Linked DNA regions of Homo sapiens: region 1 is linked to region 2. Evidence: promoter capture Hi-C in human tissues and cell types (Jung and others, 2019). All regions are on one chromosome and are shown on one strand. Each heading gives the region's core, a stretch centred on a gene start or on the middle of the fragment in contact. The rest is flanking DNA. Distances are from core to core; before and after follow the strand shown. Region 1 overlaps SAAL1 (serum amyloid A like 1). Region 2 holds the start of IGSF22 (immunoglobulin superfamily member 22).

Region 1 (3,148 bases), core at 123-2,622, 630 kb after region 2:
GAAGTTATGAGGCTGCCACAGTTACATTGTGATCAGAATTTTTATTCTATTGATGATTTTGAAAACACAAATTCTGGTTTTGGACAGGACCCAATAGCAGTTCTTGACTTCTTTCCCCTACCGTGTTTTAAGCTCTTGGAGGACAAGAAGGAATTTTGTTTTTGTTTGAGACAAAGTCTCACTCTGTCGCCCAGGCTAGAGTGCAGTGGCGAGATCTCAGCTCACTGCACCCTCTGCCTCACGGGTTCAAGCAATCCTTCCACCTCAGCCTCCTGAGTAGGTGGGACTACAGATGGTACACCACCATGCCCAGCTAATTTTTGTATTGTTTGTAGAGATGGCGTTTCACTATGTTTGCCTAGGCTGGTCTCGAACTCCTGGGCTCAAGTGATCCGCCTGTCCTGGCCTCCCAAAGTGTTAGGATTACAGGCGTGAGCCACCTCGCCCAGCCAAGTTTTACCTTTTTTTTTTTTTTCCTTTTTTTCTCGCTGTGTTGCCCAGGCTGGAGTACAGTGGCAAAGTCATGGCTCACTGCAACCTTGAGCTCCCCAGGCTCAAGTGATCCTCCCACCTCAACCTCCCAAGTAGCTGGGACTGCAGGCATGTGCCACCACACCTGGCTAATTTTCGTATTTTTTGTGGATATGGGTTTTCACTATGTTTGCCCAAGCTGGGCTCAAGTAATCCACCCACCTCGGCCTTCTAACCAGCCTCCCAAAGTGTTAGGATTACAGGTGTGAACCACTGCGCCCAGCGTGTTGCTTTTTTCCCTTGTCCCCCGCTTCTAGTTTAATACCTGATAGGTAATCACCAAATGTGTTTGAATGTGTTTAATGAGAATTCCTAGTGGGCAGAAAAATTATTAAGGTAAATAGATTCGGGCAGAAAAGAGTGGGATAATCCTCTGGAGTATTGTAGGTAGTTTAGATTTGTTTATGAAATTGTTCCATTGTCTGGGACTAGTTACCATAAAGACTCTCTAACATCACTTTTGTCTGTTGACACAGTTCCTAAGCCTGTGTTTTTTTTTTCTTGTGTCTAAAATTCTAATTTTATTTTATTTTTTTATTTTTTTTGGAGACAGAGTCTCGCTCTGTCACCCAGGCTGGAGTGCAGTGGCGTGATCTCAGCTCACTGCAACCTCTGCCTCCCGGGTTCTAGCGATTCGCCTGCCTCAGCCTCCTGAGTAGCTGGGACTACAGGTGCATGCCGCCATGCCCGGCTAATTTTTTTGTATTTTTAGTAGAGACAGGGTTTCACCGTGTTGCCCAGCTGGTCTTGAACTCCTGAGCTCAGGCAATCTGCCAGCCTTGGCCTCCCAATGTGCTAGGATTACAGGTGTCAGCCACTGCGCCTGGCGTAAAATTCTAATTTTAATATAGAATTTTATGGTTGCCTGAGCTTTAGGGTTTAGGGAGGAATATTCAACATCCAAGTTAATAATCATTTTTCTTTTCAGGACGTGGCTTTATTTCTCCAAGAATTTAATGCTCCTGATATATTCATGGGAGTACTGGCCAAGTCCAAGTGTCCTCGATTAAGAGTAAGTATGTACATTTCTAAAGCCTTCTTCTTTGAAGCAATAAGAACAGATAGTGCTGGATAGTCTTTTATTTTTCTCACTTTGATTTTCTTACTGACCATAAATCAACAAATCAGCCTGTAGATGTTAATTGAACATTGCCAGGTCCTAGGTAATTTGCTATTTAAATTTATTTTATTTTATTTTTGAGACAGGGTCTCACTATGTCTCCAGGGCTTGGAGTGCAGTGGCGTGATCACGGCTCACTGCAGTCTTGACCTCCTGGGCTCAAGGGACCCTCCCACCTCAGCCTCCCAAGTAACTGGGAGTATAGGTGTAAGCCACCACACCCAGCTAATTTTTATTTTTATTTTGTGGAGACAAAGGTCTCCTTATGTTGCCCAGGCTGGTCTTGAACTCCTGGCCTCAAGTGATCCTCCCACCTTGGCCTCCCAAAGTGCTGGGATTATAAGCGTGAGCTAAATGCCTGTAATAATTTAAAATATTAAATTATTAATAATTTAATAATTTAAAATTATGAAAATCATAGAATTTTAGATTCAGGCCGGACCAGGGAAATTAGCACTTTCATTTACCAGCTGTGGAGACGAGTTAGGCATAACCACTGTTATGCTGCTAGTATGTATCAGAACAAGGAACAGAGCCTGGGCCTCCCATTTTTCAGTTGATTTCTCTTTTTTACTGACAAAATCCACCATTGCTTGAAAACCATTCTAAACTCAGCCTGCTGCTTAAGACCTCTACTCTCTGAACCTAACTCATCTTTCCAGCATAAAATCTGGATAGCCAGGTAACCCTTCTGATTTAGCCAGACCTTTCTACTCCCTGTCTCATGCTGTCTCCGTGCCTCCCTTTGTGTGCCTTCTGTCCCCTCTCAGTATTTGCATCTGTTAATTCACAGTGGTACTTTTCCTTCCACACCTTCCCAAGTAAGTAAGTAAGCTTTCAGTAGTCATTGCTGTTAGTAAACTGCCAAGAACAATAGATAAAGACTAAAGGAGAGGCCTTTATATACTGTGCAGTGTACTGTGCTTTATTGCCAATTAAATTGCCATGTGCTATGCATATCATGGATTAGTAAATATCTGTTCAATAATTATAATTATGAAAAACTGCTGTTTACTGAATACCTGGTCTTACTACTATGAGGTATACTTTCAAAGAACTAAATCTTGGGTGAAGATATGTGTTCAGGGTCACACAGCTAGGAAAGAATGGAGCTGAGATTTCAGCCTAGGCCTGACTTCAGTATAACCACTGTACTGTATTTCCTCTCTTTCAGATTATAAAATGGAGAATTCCATAGTGTATTTTTACAAATTGAATGTTGAATTAGAATTCTTATTTAAGTAGAATGTTCTCTCTGAATTAGGGCCTGATTAACCGTTTTTTCCTTGATTCCTTATATTAATATAAGATTTGATGATTATGCTATTTTTATACTGAGTTTTTCTGTCTTAAATATATTTACTCACTACTAGTATATAAAGAAATAAGCTTATGTCAGGAATGGCACCTTTTAGGAATTAGTCATATTGTTGTATTATATCCGCTGGCCACCGTCTGCTGCCACAGTGATTCTCAGCCTTGGCTGCATGTTAGAAT
Region 2 (3,046 bases), core at 135-2,634:
GCCCCTCCCTGTTGGCCAAACTCTTATCCCATGTTAGCTCCACAGATCCCAACAGCAGCTGCAGCCCAGTAATTTCCCTTGTAAGGCCTGGGCTCAGAGTAGCTCCTCCCAAGGGGCCCAGGGAATCTGCATGTGGGCTGAGATCCTGAGCCATCCTGGACACTCCTGCTCTATTCTTGTCCCCTGCCCCCCTGGGATGGAGCAAAAGTAGCCATGATGCCACTGCTGGCAGGTGGGGGTCACCCCAGGGCAGAAGGAGGGGTCCAGGGCAAGGGTGCTGACCAACAAGTCCTTACAAGGTGCCAGAACCTTGGGTGGGATCCAGGGTCCAGGCATGCGGGGTGTGCTACAGATGATGAGAAAACAACAGGGTGGGCTGGACACGGTGGCTCACGCCTGTAATCCCAGCACATTGGGAGGCCGAGGGGTGGCAGATCATGAGGTCAGGAGTTCGAGACCAGCCTGACCAACATGGTGAAACCCCATCTCTACTAAAAATACAAAAATTAGCCGGGCGTAGCGGTGCACGCCTGTAATCCCAGATACTCAGGAGGCTGAGGCAGGAGAATCGCTTGAACCTGGGAGGCAGAGGTTGCAGTGAGCCAAGATCGTGCCACTGCATCCAGTCTGGGTGACAGAGACTCCATCTCAAAAAAAAGAAAAGAAAAGAAAACAACAGGTGGCTGAAGCAGCCCAGATGGAAGTCCTTGAGAAGAGGTGGCCATACTCTCCAGTCACCCTCAAGCAGAGACCTCCCCACAACCCCCGGAGGATGGGCCCTCCTACTCTTCTACCCAGATTAGGGAGATTGGGCTGTTGAAGTGGGAAGAGGAAGGAGACCTAACATTTCCCTGTTCTTCCCCAGGGTGGCCTTGTAAAGATACTCAGGCTGTGTATGAACCACACATAGGAGTGCAACATGAATGGGAACCCCTGGATTTGTGTAGCAACGCAGCAGATCCCAGAGGCCCTCCCCAGTTCACCGTGTCCCAGTCCCTGGAAAATACAGACCTGTTGCTTTGCTCCCTGAGCCCTGCTGGACTATGCATGCACCTGTACCTGAGTGTGTGCCTGTGCACACACACTACCCTGAGCCCCTCAGCTCAGAGAGGTCCTACCCAGCAGCAGTGAGAGCCAAAACCTGTACCACAAGGGAACAAAAAAAGTACCCCTGGACTGCCACCCTCAGCCTCCTTCCCGCCTGGCCTTCAGTGTTTCCCCCAGCCTGGATCCAGCTTTGCTTCCCGCCTCCCTTCTCCACCGCCCTCCCCCTCCCCCCACAACCAAGCAGTGTGCCATCTAGCTGAGACAGCTGCAGAGCCTGACTAAGGAATCGCCCCCAGGGGGCCAGACATTTAAGGAACAGATGACACTGGTAGCCTCACTGTTGGGGCAAAGGAAGAAGGAGACGGGCCACCCTACAGTCCAGGCACTAGCTGAGCCTCCAAAGCCGTGGACACAGCATTCGAGTGTTGGGAGGGACTGGTCAGTGCTGAAGGTAAGGCTCCCCTCCTCCCTCAGGAAGGGGACAAAGCTGACCACCTTCTGAGCCCAGAGGGGACTATAGGGTAGAGGGCAGGAATAGGAACAGGGGAGTAGTCTCAGAACCCAAAGGTAGAAGCAGCCCAGGCAGAGATATATTAGGGGGTGGAGAGAGGGAATAGAGTTTAACCCCTAACTACCTGGGTTAAAGAAGGCTTTGGAGCCCTCTGGGACGCCACTGGACTGGAGTCAAAAGCTAGGAGTCTAGTCTGAGTGACCTTGGACAGGTCATTTCTTTCAGACATCAGTTTCCTCATATACGAAATAGGACTTTAAAAACTGCAATGCTGGGCCAGGCGCGGTGGCTCACGCCTGTAATCCTAGCACTTTGGGAGGCTGAGGTGGGCGGATCACGAGGTCAGGTATTCGAGACTAGCCTGGCCAACATAGTGAAACGCCATCTGTACTAAAAATACAAAAAATTAGCCGGGTGTGATGGCGGGTGCCTGTAGTCCCAGCTACTCGGGAGCCTGAGGCAGGAGAATTGCTTGAACCTGGGAGGCAGAGGTTGTCGTGGGCCAAGATCGTGCCACTGCACTCCAGCCTGGGCAACAGAGCAAGACTCTGTCTCAAAAAAACAAAAACAAAAAAACTGCAATGCTGGCCACATGCAGTGGCTCACACCTATAATCCCAGCACTTTGGGAGGCCAAGGCAGGCGGATCAATCGAGGCTAGGAGTTTGAGACCAGCCTGGCCAACAAGATGAAACCCTGTCTCTACTGAAAACACAAAAATTAGCTGGGCATGGTGGCACGTGCCTGTAAACCCAGCTGCTGGGGAGGCTGAGGCAGGAGAATGGCTTGAATTCGAGAGGAGGAGGTTGCAATGAGCCGAGATCACCCAAAAAAAACCGCAATGCTGGTTAAATAAAACATTGAGAAAACATGGTGCTCTGAACAGGAATGAGGAAACGCTATCATCTGGTATGGAAAAAATCTCCAAGACACATTAAATGAAAAAAGAAAGGGTCAGAATAGTGTGTATAATGGGCTACCTTATGTGCTTTTTTAATTAAAAAAAAAAAAGGAAGATGATAAGAACACATGAGTTTTCCTATTTGCATGATGGAGGTCTAGAAGGAGCCTAGAGACTGGCTACCTGTTGCAATGGGGAAGGTTGTAAGATAGACGCAGGAGTGGGAGGGAGCCTGTCCATATGGATTTTTATATTGTTTTATTCTTTAACTATGTGATTGAATTACCAGTTCAAAGAAAAATGTAAGAAAAACTAAACCTTTGCCTTTACCATGTCGCAAACACAAGCAGAATTGTAGTGATGTTTTGTCATCTGTTTTAGCATTCCACCAGTGCCGGGGTCCCCAGGGCCCAGGAATAAGAGACACAGCTTCCTTCTAAAGCCCACTCCAGTATGGCTTAGTCAGGAAGTTCTTTCTTAGGTCTGACTGCATTCCCTCCTGATGAAACATCCAGCACTGCCTCCTTAGTGCCATGTAGCTATCAATAGGTATCCTCAACTCCCTCCAGGCCTTACTTGGTTGGCTGG

The links. Contacts are between HindIII fragments. The study calls those that stand out against the background at their distance.
Region 1: a fragment that was not itself captured here is called in contact with the fragment with the promoter of IGSF22 in region 2 in 1 of the 25 tissues and cell types used here (lymphoblastoid cells).

Annotation. Positions count from the first base shown.
Region 1 is chr11:18,095,166-18,098,313 of GRCh38, reverse strand. It overlaps SAAL1 (serum amyloid A like 1), which reads left to right. Exons shown (of 12, transcript NM_138421.3): 3 at 1,460-1,543. Among named protein-coding and RNA genes, the nearest start is that of SAAL1, 9.3 kb to the left of the region's middle. The HindIII fragment of the contact is 6,383 bases long and covers 1-3,148 here.
Region 2 is chr11:18,724,526-18,727,571 of GRCh38, reverse strand. It overlaps IGSF22 (immunoglobulin superfamily member 22), which reads left to right and starts at 1,384. Exons shown (of 23, transcript NM_173588.4): 1 at 1,384-1,498. All of the region lies in intron 2 of IGSF22-AS1 (IGSF22 antisense RNA 1), which reads right to left. The HindIII fragment of the contact is 11,359 bases long and covers 1-3,046 here.